Linked DNA regions of Homo sapiens: region 2 is linked to region 1. The links are contacts of gene promoters, found by promoter capture Hi-C in blood cells and fetal thymus (Javierre and others, 2016). All regions are on one chromosome and are shown on one strand. Each heading gives the region's core, a stretch centred on a gene start or on the middle of the fragment in contact. The rest is flanking DNA. Distances are from core to core; before and after follow the strand shown.

The links. Contacts are between HindIII fragments. The CHiCAGO score rates a contact against its expected background, and 5 or more counts as called.
Region 2: a contact is called between the fragment with the promoter of KRTAP13-3 here and the fragment with the promoter of KRTAP20-3 in region 1, in 2 of 17 cell types (neutrophils and monocytes). The highest score is 9.7, in neutrophils.

What each region holds. Positions count from the first base shown.
Region 1 is chr21:30,637,887-30,645,640 of GRCh38, reverse strand. It overlaps KRTAP20-3 (keratin associated protein 20-3), which reads right to left and starts at 2,777. Exons shown (of 1, transcript NM_001128077.1): 1 at 2,505-2,777. The coding sequence starts at 2,752. The coding sequence ends at 2,618. The HindIII fragment of the contact is 10,269 bases long and covers 1-7,754 here.
Region 2 is chr21:30,423,161-30,430,914 of GRCh38, reverse strand. It overlaps KRTAP13-3 (keratin associated protein 13-3), which reads left to right and starts at 4,989. Exons shown (of 1, transcript NM_181622.2): 1 at 4,989-5,535. The coding sequence starts at 5,003. The coding sequence ends at 5,521. The region is part of intron 3 of LOC105372772 (a long non-coding RNA gene); the gene reads left to right. It overlaps KRTAP13-4 (keratin associated protein 13-4), which reads right to left and starts at 695. Exons shown (of 1, transcript NM_181600.3): 1 at 1-695. The coding sequence starts at 639. The coding sequence ends at 157. The HindIII fragment of the contact is 9,043 bases long and covers 1-7,754 here.

The DNA of each region.
Region 1 (7,754 bases), core at 1,528-4,027:
CATGCCAATACTACTGACCGTGTAATTGTCAGCATCTAGCTCAGCGTCAGAATTTACGTTATTACTCTAGAAATCCTTTCTGAAAAAATCCATGTTTGAAGAGAGGAAGATTAAGAAGTTTCTCTTCCCAGAAAGTTGGTGGGCCCTTGATTTTCCTGCCATGACTCCCTTTTCATTTCCTTTTTAACTTTTATCTGCTCCTTCCCTGATTTGCAAACACCTTTTTTTTTAATTCACCTATAATTATTGGAATACTCTATGATATGGTTTGGCCTTGTTCCCCCTCCCCAAATCTCATCTTGAATTGCAGTTCCCATAATCCTCAGGTGGCATGGGAGGGACCCAGAGAGAGGTAATTGAATCATGGGGTGGTTACCCTCATGCTGCTGTTCTCCTGAGAGCGAGTACTTTCTCACGACTTCTGATGGTTTTATAAGGGGATTTTCCCCCTTGTGCTCATTCTTCTCCTTCTTGCTGCCTTGTGAAGAAGGACGTGACTTCTTCCGCTTCTGCCATGATTGTAAGTTTCCTGAGGCCTCCCCAGGTATGTAGAACTGTCAGTTAATTAAACCTGTTTCCTTTATAAATTACCCAGTCTTGGATATTTCTTCAGATCAGAGTGAGAACGGACTAATACACTGTATTTCTGAAGTTACGACGAACTTTATCCAATTATTTTCTATATTTAAAACTCAGTTTTCTCCTGAGTTGTAGATTTTTGTAACAACCTGCCAGGAAAAATCTTTATTTGGCCCTCCCACAGATGACATTTACGTGTACTCAAGTAAACTTTTGCGGCTCCACTTTGATTGTCCCCCAAATGTTCCGATTCCCGTATCACATGTGCCATTAGTTCCACAGTCAGTCGTTGACTGTTCAAGTCCTTGTTTATTTTGTGCTCTGTTTTATTCCTTAGCCCCCTCCATTCTCATACCACATGGGCATGTTCTTTAACTTCTATCCCATAATAATCTATTTGATCTAGGCCTTCATAGGAATCTTAGTTGCCGCTTTTACATTAAGACCTTGCATTGGCTGCTTACACAGCCTCCAGAATGGTCGTTTGGTCTGTGGTCATACTCCTTGGCCACCTTTCCTTCAATTGGATGCCATAATTATTTGTATAAAACATGCGCTTCTTATTTTTATTTTATTTTTCCATGAGTTATTGGGGTACAGTTGGTATTTGATTACATGAGTAGGTTCTTTAGTGGTGATTTGTGAGATTTTGGTGCACCTGTCACCCAAGCAGTATACACTGCACCATATTTGTAGTCTTTTATCCCTCACCTCCTTCTCACCCTTCCCCCCACATTCCCAAAGTCCATTGTATCATTCTTATACTTTTGCATCCTCATAGTTTAGCTCCCACATATCAGTGAGAACATACGATGTTTGGTTTTCCATTCCTGAGTTACTTCACTTAGAATAATAGTTTCCAATCTCATCCAGGTAAAGGAAAATATTACAACTTTATAAAACATTATCCAGTACACCCATTGCAAAATATATATGGCCTTGATGTTCTAGTTTCTCTTCACTGCCCAGGGCTTCATTTCCTGCCAGTGACTTTGCCCACTGTTCTCTCAAGAAATAACATCAATTTATGACTTTGCAGTGCAATACTTTTTTCATGGCTTTGCATATTTGTTTCCCCTGCCTGGCATACACTTTACCTCCAATGTATTTTTCGTTGGTTAAAAATTTATTCAAATGTAACCTTCAATGAGAATATTTTTGATCTGTTTGCTCTACAATCTCGCTCTTTTGCATCCAAACATGAGCTTCTCCTCTGTGTTCCTACGTGGCTATTACATCACCTATCATGTTGTAGCATACATGTTTATTTAAACATTTGTTTTTCTGCTTAAAAACTCTTCTCCCATAAGTAACACTAAGACTTAACAGGAAGCCCTATATAGAAATTACTTAATGAGGACTTATTAAACAAGTGAGTAATTAATAAATTTAAAAAATGAATGACATTGGCCTGGCCAAAGTAAGTTTAATTAAAAATAAACCTAGAGCTCCCTACTCCTGAAACATATCAAAAAGTAATTTGCTTGGTAAATTATGAAAACACATCAGTTTGGAAGAGAAAAATGTAGTTAATCTGGGGCACTGATGTGGATTTAGTGTGAATTTAATGATGTGTGTTCTTTGCCTAGAATTAGATTGAATAACTAAGCATTATTTTTGTTTTTTTGAGATGGAATCTCATTTTGTTGCTCAGGCTGGAGTGCAGTGGTGCCATCTCGGCTGACTGCAACCTCTGCCTTTGGGTTCAAGTGATCCTCCTGCCTCAGCCTCCCCAGTAGCTGGGGCTACAGGCACCCACCACCACACCTGGCTATTTTTTTAACTTTTAGTAGAGATGGGATTTTGCCATGTTGGCCAGGCTGGTCTCGAACTCCTAACCCCAGGTGATCCACCCGCCTCGGCCTCCTAAAGTGCTGGGATTATAGGGAATCATTAAGAATTCTAATTGGGTTAAACAAATTAAAAAAAGTGTAGTAGAACAGCACCCCTGTCTCATAAGAAAATGGACCCAATTGTAGATATTATTCAGTCAGTGCCTGATAATAAGCATGTAGCATAATCATATTGGTGGCAGCAGTCAAATCCATACCCCACCACAGCCACATCTGTAGCCACAGTCCAGGATTCTAAAGGCACCAAAGCCAGAGGTATAACTATATTTACAGTCATAGCCATAGCCCAGTCCTCCGTAGTAGTTGCCATAGTAGCTCATTGTGTCAGGATTTAAGTCTCTAGCCTGAGAGGCCAGCATAAGTTTTAGTGCATAAAAACACTAAAATACTGGGTCTTTTATCAGTCTCAGTGGAGGTGTGACAAACCACAGGCACTCCTGACATTGTCATATAGACCAACCTGTATTTAAAAATCTCATTAATCTTGTATCTTTAGATTTTAAAAAAAGACTCCCTATCCTGATAAAATTGAGATTTTCTTCTCAGTATGTTATGATCCTGCCAAACAGCTGATAGACTTTAAAGGAAAAAAAAATACTGAGTTCCATGACCTTACTCACACTGATGCCGAATTTAACCTTTGTAGCTATGTTGGATGACATCACGTGGAGGAGGCAAATGCCATCCTCTTCCGATCACTTTGCTAATAATACCCTTCTTCTTATATGCATATTTAAATCTTAATCAACACAGCTGTGATGTTATCGCTATAAAACTTAGTAGCAAATACAGTGGACTCTTGAATACCATGAGTTTGAACTGCACAGATACGCTTATATTAAGCAGATTTTCTTCACCTCTGCCACTCCGGCAGCAAGACCAACCCCTCCTCCTCCTTCTCCTCCTCAACCTACTCAACATGAAGACAATAAGGCTGAAGACCTTTATGATGATCCACTTCCACTTAGTGAATAGTAAATCCATTTTCTCTTTTTCTTTATTTTCTTAATAAAATTTTCTTTTCTTTAGCCTACTTTATTATAGGAGTATAATCTCTCATTACAGGTAACATAAGCATGTATTAATCAACTGTTTATGTTATTGGTAAGGCTTCTGGTCAACAGTAGGCTATTAGTAGTTAAGTTTTTGGGGAGTCAAAAGTTATACTCAGATTTTCAACTGCGTGGAGGTTGGCACTCCTAATCCCTGCATTGTTCAAGGATCAACTGTGATTTATTCTGTACAAACTCCCACCAATCACATATTATTCTGTAGTTTTCCTATTGCTATGCTCTCTTAAAAGTAGTGCCCTTTTCTTGCCTGTTTAGTTCCTTCTTCTCCACACCTTAAGCATTCTTTAAAAAGTTGTTTGGTTGATTATCTTGTACCTGCACTGCAATGTAGATATGTTTCTTCGGAGAAAAGAAAAGCATTGAGAATCTTATCTGATTCCAAAGTCACAGGAACGTAAAGTAGACATTTTTGAGACCCAAATATAACAGAAGGCATGACTATTAATTTTTCTGTAGGGATATTGACTCTGTCTGTATCATGTACTTATATGTAGACTTAAGTTCTCAAAGGCAGGCTGAATCTAGATACTATCATTTCTTAAGATGATTAAAAATAATTGAAAATTTTCCTTCACCACTGACCTTTAGGGTAATCCCCGATTTGATCTGTTGTACTTCAGTCATCCACTTTTAGGCAGTGCTACCATATTGGCAGAACCATCTATAATCCAGGACTAATTTTTCCTTCTCCAACTGGAAAATCAGCATAAATTCATAGGTGTATGTTGAGAAAGAAGAGACAACTCAGCAGAGAGGAAACCATGAGAATCCAAGCCAATTGCTTCTGTAAGTTGTTTGTGCTTTCACAACTCCCTTAAGCCCAACCTTATGTTCCCCACCTTCACTTGATGACAGAGAGCTGGTGTGTATGCTCAACTTTCTGAATAAGAGGGCTAGAAAATTTGGGCTGAGATGATGGGGTTTTCTAGATATACAATCACGTCATCTGCAAACAGGGAACATTTGACTTCCTCTTTTCCTAACTGAATACCCTTTATTTCCTTTTCCTGCCTGATTGCCTTGGCCAGAACTTCCAACACTATGTTAAATAGGAGTGGTGAGAGAGGGCATCCCTCTCTTGTGCCAGTTTTCAAAGGGAATGCTTCCAGTTTTTGCCCATTCAGTATGATATTGGCTGTGGGTTTGTCATAGCTAGCTCTTATTATTTTGAGATACTTTAAGCTGATAGGCAACTTCAGCAAAATCTCAGGATACAAAATCAATGTGCAAAAATCACAAGCATTCTTATACACCAATAAAAGACAGAGAGCCAAATCATGAGTGAACTCCCATTCACAATTGCTTCAAAGAGAATAAAATACCTAGGAATCCAACTGACAAGGGATGTGAAGGACGTCTTCAAGGAGAACTACAAACCACTGCTCAGTGAAAAAAGAGGATACAAACAAATGGAAGGACATTCCATGCTCATGGGTAGGAAGAATCAATATTGTGAAAATGGCCATACTGCCCAAGGTAATTTATAGATTCAATGCCATCCCCATCAAGCTACCAATGACTTTCTTCACAGAATTGGAAAAAGCTACTTTAAAGTTCATATGGAACCAAAAAAGAGCCCACATTGCCAAGTCAATCCTAAGCCAAAAGAACAAAGCTGGAGGCATCATGCTACCTGACTTCAAACTATACTACAAGGCTACAGTAACCAAAACAGCATGGTACTGGTACCCAAACAGAGATACAGACCAATGGAACAGAACAGAGCCCTCAGAAATGATGCCGCATATCTATAACTATCTGATCTTTGACAAACCTGACAAAAACAAGAAATGGGGAAAGGATTCCCCATTTAATAAATGGTGCTAGGAAAACTGGCTAGCCATATGTAGAAAGCTGAAACTGGATCCCTTCCTTACACCTTATACAAAAATTAATTCAAGATGGATTAAAGACTTAAATGTTAGACCTAAAACCATAAAAACCCTAGAAGAAAACCTAGGCAATACCATTCAGGACGTAGGCATGGGCAAGGACTTCATGTCTAAAACACCAAAAGCAATGGCAACAAAAGCCAAAATTGACAAATAGGATCTAATTAAACTAAAGAGCTTCTGCACAGCAAAAGAAACTACCATCAGAGTGAACAGGCAACTTATAGAATGGGAGAAAATTTTTGCAATCTACTCATCTGACAAAGGGCTAATATCCAGAATCTACAAAGAGCTCAAACAAATTTACAAGAAAAAACCAACAACCCCATCAACAAGTGGGCAAAGGATATGAACAGACACTTCTCAAAAGAAGACATTTATGCAGCCAACAGACACATGAAAAAATGCTCATCATCACTGGCCATCAGAGAAATGCAAATCAAAACCACAATGAGATACCATCTCACATCAATTGGAATGGCGATCATTAAAAAGTCAGGAAACAACAGGTGCTGGAGAGGATGTGGAGAAACAGGAACACTTTTACACTGTTGGTGGGACTGTAAACTAGTTCAACCATTGTGGAAGTCACTGTGGCGATTCCTCAGGGATCTAGAACTAGAAATACCATTTGACCCAGCCATCCCAGTACTGGGTATATACCCAAAGTATTATAAATCATGCTGCTAGAAAGACACATGCACACATATGTTTACTGTGGCACTATACACAATAGCAAAGACTTGAAACCAACCCAAATGTCCAACAATGATAGACTGGATTAAGAAAATGTGGCACATATATACCATGACATACTATGCAGCCATAAAAAAGGATGAGTTCATGTCCTTTGTAGGGACATGGATGAAGCTGGAAACCATCATTCTCAGCAAACTATCGTAAGGACAAAAAACCAAACACCACATATTCTCACTCATAGGTGGGAATTGAACAATGAGAACACATGGACACAGGAAGGGGAACATCACACACCGGGGCCTGTGGTGGGGTGGGGGGAGGGGGGAGGGATAGCATTAGGAGATATACCTAATGTTAAATGACGAGTTAATGGGTGCAGCACACCAACATGGCACATGTATACATATGTACCAAACCTGCACGTTGTGCACATGTACCCTAAAACTTAAAGTATAATAAAAATAAAAATAAAAATAAAAATAAATGCTTGGTACCTATGTTGATCACTCAGAATTTCACTAATAGTGTTGAGTTTTTAAATCCAATGATGGCTAAACCACTTTTGGGAAAAAATATTGTAATTTATTGAAAATCAAATAGAAAGTCCACATAATTACAAAGCATCTTTTGCCCAAGTGATATCTTATTGCGTAAGATTCTGTTGTCTCATTGCCATTTCCCAATGTATGGGGATTCTTAAGGACAAGTGGAATAAATGGACACATTTGCTGTTTGGGGATTTCAAAAGAAAAATAAAGGAGCTGTCAGATGTGAAGAACAGTGGAATAAGAGGGAGGCAGTGACTCAGTGCATTCGACACTGTCCTGGTGAGCTGGTGAACAACAGATCCTTTCCCGAGAATTTTAACATCAAATATCAAGCAGTCAGCAGCCACTCGACAGGGGATTCTATCTATACTCTCCATGTCATCCAGATGACGTGAGGTGTGAAGAGCGAATTACCTCTCTTCTGAAGCACAGTGCAAAGTAATTCAGCCAAATCTCAGGGTGTTGAGAAATAGACAAACCCAGGGGTTGTTATATATAGTGATAGGAAAAAAGACTATTTTGCTGAGCAAAAATGTCATTTAAAATGTTCTTATATGAATGTAAATTGGAAGTCTGACCAAATGTAACACTGGCTGCTGAATCACATGAAAACTGGATTGCATATGACCTTAGGTAAAAGGAACTGATGTTCAGAACAAATTTTCAGGGCCATCAAAACTGCAGGAGATATCAGAATCTCTCTATTCCTCTCTCTCTTTTTCTCTCTTTCTCTCTCTCTCTCTGCCTCTCTCTCGCTGCTTCACTCTGAAAAACGCATACACACATGCACACAAACAGAAAAAGCAAAAATAATAGAGAGAAATTAATATAAGTATAATCAACAAAATTTACAGGAGCATTGTAAGTTTATTTTCATACTGCTATGAAGATACTACCAGAGACTGGGTAATTTATAAAGGAAGTTTAATTGACTCACAGCTCAGCATGGCTGCGGAAGCCTCAGGAAACTTAAAATCATGGCAGAAGGCAGAGGAGAAGCAAATTCCTTCTTCACAAGATGGCAAGAAAGAGATCGAGACAGTGTGAAGGAGGAACTGTCAAAAACACAAAACCATCAGATCTTGTGAGAACTCACTCACTAACATGAGT
Region 2 (7,754 bases), core at 3,740-6,239, 220 kb after region 1:
TATTAGGTTACTCATTAATTTCGCAGTCTGCCAGAAGTTGGTCATGCAAGAAGCTGGTGGTGGAAGAATAAAAAGATATTGGGATCTGGCAAGAATGAAAATAATGGCTGCATTCAGTAGAGACTTTGATCCCAATACTCAAAAGGATCTAGAAATTTAGCAGGTGAATTGATAGAAGCGAGATCCACAGATTGGTCTGTAACAAGAAGACTGCCAGGCTCCAGAAGCCAAGTAGTTTGGGTAGCAGAATCTGGATCCGTAACTCAGGGAAGGAAAACCACAGCCTCCATATTTCAGGAATCTGAAGCCACTGGATCCATTTCCCAGCGAGTAGCAGCACCTAGATCCATAGCCCTGGGAGCGACAGCTGCTGGACCGAAAGCCTAGAGATCCAGAGCAAGTCGTCTGACAGGGACAGCAGAGGATGGAGGTCCTGGGGCGGTAGCAGGATTTCTGGCAGCTGGCGGGCTCCCAGCAGGTCTTCTGACAGTCCCTGTAGAGAGAGGAACGCAGCTGGCAGGTGCTGGGAGAGCAGAGGGCAGTGCTGTAGACCAGGCTGCTGGGGTAGGAGCCTGGGTAGTACAGGTAGCCCCCAAAGGAGCGGGAGGAGAAGTTTCTAGAGCAGCAGTTGTAGGACATGCTGATGAGAGATGGGAGTTCAGCTGAGTGTACCTAAGAAGATTCTGAGTTTTAATGTCGCATCCTGGACAAGGGCATTTATATCCTCTCAGCAATAGGTGTGGTGCCCAACAGGGTCATCCTTTACATATTTGTGATCCCTCATTTACATATGTGTAACTGCGTAATCTTGTCTGTAATTGCATTTGAATAGTTTTCCATGTATTGTATTTATGGGTGCTATAATTTTCGTGTTATAGCACAAAGCCAATGAACTGTACTTATGTCAGAAATGCTATGACTGTTTTATATTAATGTCTAGCTCATCATGACAAGGAAAGCTCTTCCTATTTCTTTGGCACATGCTAACTGCCTCTTTTCCTGTGTATTCACATCTGGCTTTGCTAGTAGATGTTTTCCTCTTAAGAGTGGGGAATGAGATAACGTTAGTTTCTTTCTGGTGCAATTTCCACCTGGATGAGAACCTTTGTGAAAATGATCCATCTTGTCACCATTGATTGCTATACTCCAAAATTACTTTGTGGTGATTTTTTAGGGCGGTAAGAGTAAATTAATACATTAAGTACTACAGTTATAAAGTCTGTCTCATATCCAGTGAAGAAAGATCAAGAACAGGCAAAGCAAAGAGATAGAAAGAAATGGCTAGAAATTGAAAGAAACCTTGCCATTTATTTAAAGACGAGATAACAAAAAGAAGCTCGATTGAAACACAGTCACAGAGAAGATCAATTTGAGGTCATGTCTCTTCAGCCAAAGAGCCCGAATGCTTGTCTGCTGAAGGGAGGAAACAAGTGAAAGAGAAACAAAGAGAAAGCTCAGGAATTTCAGAATTTTTTTTCCTATTGCATTCCAGCTGTCATGTGTCTTGTCTCAATGTCTTTATGAGCAAAAATTTTCAAAATTAGCAAATCTTATGAACTTTGATATATTTATCATCTACTTTTGTAATTATACAGGACTTCTACCTTCTTAGAATGGCTCTAGCTTTCCATATTACTGGCTTTCAGTGTCTTTTTGCCACTTGTAGAACCAGGTACCATCCTACATTTTCCTGTGAAAATGTGAAGTTTCTTTGTTCCCCAGTCCTCTTTTCCTCTGCATGGTATATGAATGTTTCTCTCTTATTTTCTCTCTCTCTTCCTCTGACTTTCTTTCCCTCTATTTTTCTTTCTTTTTTCTGTGCTTAAGTTTGATTTTATCTTTTTTCTTTTTTTTACTTGTTATATTTTATGTTTTGTTCATGTGTTTGTTTGCCTCTGCTGAATTATAGATTCCATGTTGAAAAATAAAAATTGGACAGCTTTGTCGTATTCTTTGAGGATAGCCACTTTGTAAGTTCATTCACAAAATATTCTATGTTGAAATACAAGTAGTTAAATTATATTCAGGACCAAAGAAAGTGTACTGTCATGGTTGATGACATTTTATTTTATAATAAAATATAATAAACTTACAACAATAATGTTAGACATTTTCTCGATTAAATTTTCTCAATTAAAATGTATGGCAATATTGAAAAGTAACTTAATATAGGCCTTCCAGAAGGAAGAATGAAGAAAGAAGCAAATATGGCCAATTCAAATATCTATTCAGTGAGTTACTTTCTATTTTTCAATGGCAGTTGATTTCCCCTAACCTTGTACCTTAGTAAGTAGGTTTGGAAACTATTCCTTCCCCATTTTCTTTTGTTTCAAATGTAACTCTTTAAAATAATCTTGAATACAAAACTTATGAGTTAAATGGAGAGCATGAATTTATTCAGGCAAAACTAAGGGATTTAGTGAATTTGTCTTCAGTTAATCCAGGCTCCTTATTCAAAAATCCTTCTCTGAACCAGTTATTGTGAAAAGAGGTGTTCTTCCCTTCTCTCTGCCTCTAAATCTCTAAAACTTTGTCCACATTAATTTGATAGAAGTTTAAGAAGAACTTGTAAATGCCACAACTTTGGACTCACTTCATCTTGGAGATCATATTATTTGTTCTGTTTAATATGGAGCCTCATCATTGTTGTTTCTTTTTTTGACTGAATTATTTATCAACAATTAAAAATTGAGATCTTTCACATAAAATATATGGCTCAGGGATATACATCAAAAGGCTTCTGATCTTTTGACAGATGATTCTCTTCACTGGGCTATGAATAATGGCTTTGGATATTTGAGATATGTTTTCAACAGAATCTCATCCATAGTTGAAAATTACAACGTTTGGCACCTACCTGCTTCTCTTTTCAAAATAACCAGGCAACTTGTCACTAACATGCTGGAAAATCTTGCTTTCACTAACCATCCAGGTTACAACCTCAATAAGCAAAAGCCAATACTTCTATATAAAGATTGAAAATAGAAAAAAGAGTATAAGCCATATGTAATGTAGTTAAAAAGTGTACCTTGCTTATAATTGGAATCTAAGCAAAAGAAAGATGAGAGGATGGGGCAGAAGCAATATTTGAAGAGAGTACAGTTGGGAATTTACCAATCTTGATAAAAGACATCAACTCACACGTGAAATAATAGGAGAATGGTGTAGATCTAGTCTAACTAAGGTGGAGATGGCTGAAAAAATGAGTTTTAGCAGATATTACCTGGAGACAGTCTGAACATAAGCTCCAAAACTAAACTCAAAAGTTTGTTTATTGTTTCTCTAAATCATTGAACAACTGAAATAATTTTTTTTTTGTTTACCCTGATTGGCATACTCAAGATAAAATGTTCAGTTTAAATTTTTTGCTATCCTTCAAAAAATTGGTTTACTTTTTGTATTAGTCTATTCTCACACTGCTATAAACTACTACCTGTGACTGGGTAATTTATAAAGAGAAGAGGTTTAATTGACTCACAGTTCTGCAGGCTGTACACGAAGCACGGCTGGGGAGGCTTCAGGGAACTTACAATCATGGCAGAAAATGAAGGAGAAGCAGGCAGTCCTACAAGGGAAGCAGTAGAAAGAGTGAAGGGGGAAGTGCTACACATTTTTAAACAACCAGATCTCATGAGAGCTAACTCACTAGCACGAGAACAGCAAGGGGGAAATCCACCCCCATGATCCAATCATCTCCCACCAGGCCTTCCCCAACACTGGGGATTACAATTTGGCCTGAGATTTGGGCAGGGACACAAATCCAAACAGTATCACTTTTTAAAAAGTATAAACAAGATTAAATATTTACAGATTTTCTGCATTTTTTCTCTTTCCAGAGTCTCCCCTGAGAGAGGCTGGGAGAGTTGTAAGATTTGGACATAGGTCTGGCCCAAGTGAAGGAGAAAGAGAAAGAAGTGCTTGAGACCTATGCAGGAGACAGTAGTTCTTTAAGGCCGTTGAGGAAACCCTGAGTCAAAGCTGGCCGTCAATTGTCTTCCAGGAATTCCTATATCCCACTGTGCTCAGTCTTTGCTTGGGAGCAGCCCAGAGAAAGCAAGCCTTCCCCAAAAATGCAGTGTTAACTTTTAGAACACAGCAGGTAGGACCACTGGTTATTTAAGCCTCCTGTAATTTAAGATCCGAGATGAGAATTCTCCAGGCTGCCACACATATGAATGAGAATCTCTTAGGACCATGGGCCTCATATTAGATGCATTGAATCTAAAATTCATTTATTTTTTTCTGTCATTTCAATGGTGTGTGTTTATTTAACACTTTAATTCTCTTCATAAGGCCCCAGAATTGTTTTTCATTTGTGATTGTCTCAGTTCCATCCCTTGCTGTCACCATGTCTCCAAATAATTGTCCAGGTTTCCTTCTGGTCATAGGCATCAATGTTATTCAATTTGTCTTGGCTCATACTTTTCCCTCTACACTGGATGTGAGACACAGTGAGTAACAGTACATAATAGATGAAGGAAACTTTTGTGGAATGAGAAAGGATGGTGACATGTAGGTTTAGTTTTCAGCAGGTTTCTCATTAAGGCCAAAGTTGTGTCTCTAATCCATTGACAAAAAAGACATGTAACTTTATCTCATTTCTCACTGTTTAGGGAAAATTATTGCCCATAACAGCCAATAACAAGACACATGAAAATTATGCTAGGAGGAAAAGGAGGTGCTTTCCTAGACATAATAAAATAAATATTAATACGAAACAGTCATAGCATTTCTGGCATAAGTGCAGTTCATTGGCTTTGTGCTATAACACCAAAATTATAGCACGCATAAATACAACATGTGGAAAAGTATTCAAATGCAATTACAGGCAAGATTGCTGAGCTACACATATGTAAATGAGGGAGCACAAAAATGTGAGGGATGACTCTGCTGTGCACCACACCTATTGCTGAGAGGATATAAATGACACTGTCCAGGATGCCACGTTAAAACTCAGAATCTTCCCAGGTACACTCAGCTGAACTCACATCTTCCCGTCAACATGTCCTACAACTGTTGCTCTAGAAACTTCTCCTCCTGCTCCCACGGGGGTTACTTGCACTACCCAGGCTCCTCCTGTGGCTCTTCCTACCCCAGCAACCTGGTCTACAGCACTGACCTCTGCTCTCCCAGCACCTGCCAGCTGGGTTCCTCTCTCTATAGGGGCTGTCAGGAGACCTGCTGGAGGCCCAACAGCTGTCAGACATTGTGTGTTGAGTCCAGCCCCTGCCACACCTCCTGCTACTACCCCAGGACTCACATGCTCTGCAATTCTTGCCTGACTATGCATGTTGGGTCTCGGGGTTTTGGATCCAATAGCTGCTGCTCCCTGAGCTGTGGATCCAGGAGCTGCTCCTCACTGGGCTGTGGATCCAATGGCTTCAGATATCTGAATTATAGAATCCATACCTCCCCTTCCCAGAGTTATAGATCCAGATTCTGCCATCCAATCTATTTTCCACCTAGAAGGTGGTTCCATTCATCTTGTTATCAGCCATTCTGTAGATCTGGTTTCTACTGACTAATGTGGTGACTGGTAAAACTCATTTGAGAAATGCATATTCTTTAGTAAGGTCATCTGTTAATTTCTTCCTTTGAGAAGTATTCTAATATTATTGATCACCAGGTCTTCCTTACTTTCCAGCCCTCAAAAACTGGGTTGTATGTTAGTTCTGTCAAACTGCAGTTTGGATCAATGAATAATCTATAACTGGATCAATCTGGATCTATAACTCTGGGAAGGGAAGGCATGGATTTTATAATTCAGATATCTGAAGCCATTGGATCAATGAGTGATCCAAACTGCATTATAGATATAATTTATAGTTTTTGTATTTCTTTCCAAAAGAGATAGGAAGTGAAAAAGATTTTATTTTAATAAACTCTTTATTCTTCTGTCCAAATGTGCTGTTAATATTGCTATTTATTAGTAAAGCATTGTCTAGGATGTGCATTGTCATTGCTTCTGGTAATGGGCTTTGCAATGCCCAGATTGTGGGATCTCCACACTAATTTTGGTTGGGCTTTAGATATTTTCCTCCTCTTTAAGCAGGAGTTTCTGGGATTCTCACAGTTTCCAAGGATAGCCTTTCTCTTAAGTATCCTCGTCAGGATAGTTAAGATAGCCTTTGCTATCATTTTTGATGATAACCTTTCATCAGAATCATCAAAAATGATTGTTTGGGTTGTATCTTGAAATAAAATTGGATAGGCTGTATTTATACTGTTCTGTTCTCTCACATCAAAGCGTTATAAAAAGTAAGTTACTGATAGTATTAAGAGCATTGACTATCCTTGTTCATTCCTTGAATATGCCATGCATCTCTAAGGACAGAATGTAACAGAAAAGTTTGAAGAGTACATGAACAAAATTCATACTTATATGATTAGGCCTGTTCATGAAGTATATTAAAATGGAAGACTAACACATGGATGTAAATGTTTAGAAAAGAGCACCTATGAGCTTCAGGTATCATAGTGCAGGAGTATCACTTATTTTTAATTAGCTAAATCCCTGAACCCCAATTACTGTTTTCAATCTGCTCAAATGATCTCCATTTGTTTAAAAAGGCAGGCAACAAACTTTGATGGGAAGGAAGTAGGCTCAGCAGGTGTTAGTTGTACCTGGGTTCTTTGCCAAAATATAAACTGAATCTAATTGAAAACTCTGAAGCCTTTACTATCATCAAAAATGATTGTTTTTTGTCGTATCTTGAAATAAAATTGGATAGACTGTACTTATGCTGTTCTGCTCTCTTACATCCAAGTGTTATAAAAAGTAAGGTACTAAGACAATACGATGGTAATGGCAGACATAATATTTATATAAAACAAGCAATGTTCAAGTATTTTCCTATTCTTTATTTTATAAGATCTTCTAACATTCTCTGAAATTAGAAATATAATGCAGATTATTAGACACTTCACAAAAAACTTAGTCTTATAAGTACATAACAGTCATCTCATCATGTTCTCTTCCTCTTTTACTGCGAATGTGATAAAATATGAAATATAAAGAGAGCTGTAGAGTTCATCGACTTCAATATTCTTATTCTACAGAGGTGGAAATGGAAACAGTAGCGTTAGATAGAATTTTAAAATGTTACTCAGCAAGCTATTGTAGAGCTGTGAGTAGAACTACTTTATTCCACCCAATTTATTTTATTGGATCTATCCAGCTGTGACATTTTCTCTTATCTCCTCACTTCCGTCATTTGCTCCCTATTTTCCTCTTCTTCTTCTTCTCCCTCCTCCTTCTCCTCCATCATGTTTAGGAAATAGTCATGGTGCTTATATAGTTAGAGGAAAGAAATAAGGAATAATGAAAGAAAATGCATAGGAAAAATTATCAGTGATTGAGTTACAAAAATTAAAATGACAAACTGTGAAATCCTCTATAAACTTGGTCCTTTTTATAACTTCATGGATTTTTTGAATTTTAGTGATTCTAGTTAGTCCCATGCTCATAATATTTACTCAAGAGTAATGATCAAGCCTTATATCCCCAAAACATAGGCAATGGTAAGGGTTTAATGAGGAGCACCTATAGCTTATTGGCCAGGCTGAGGTTTCCTCTGTTACTGTCTCCAAATTGCAGATGCAGGAATGGTTTTCTGGCTTTCAGGAATACACTTTAATCTTGGTTTCCTATTACTGCCATAGCAAATTAGATTAAACTTAGAGTTTTAAGCAATACAAATTTATTATCTTTTAATTCTGTAGGTCAAAATCTGATGAATTGATGACCTCACTGG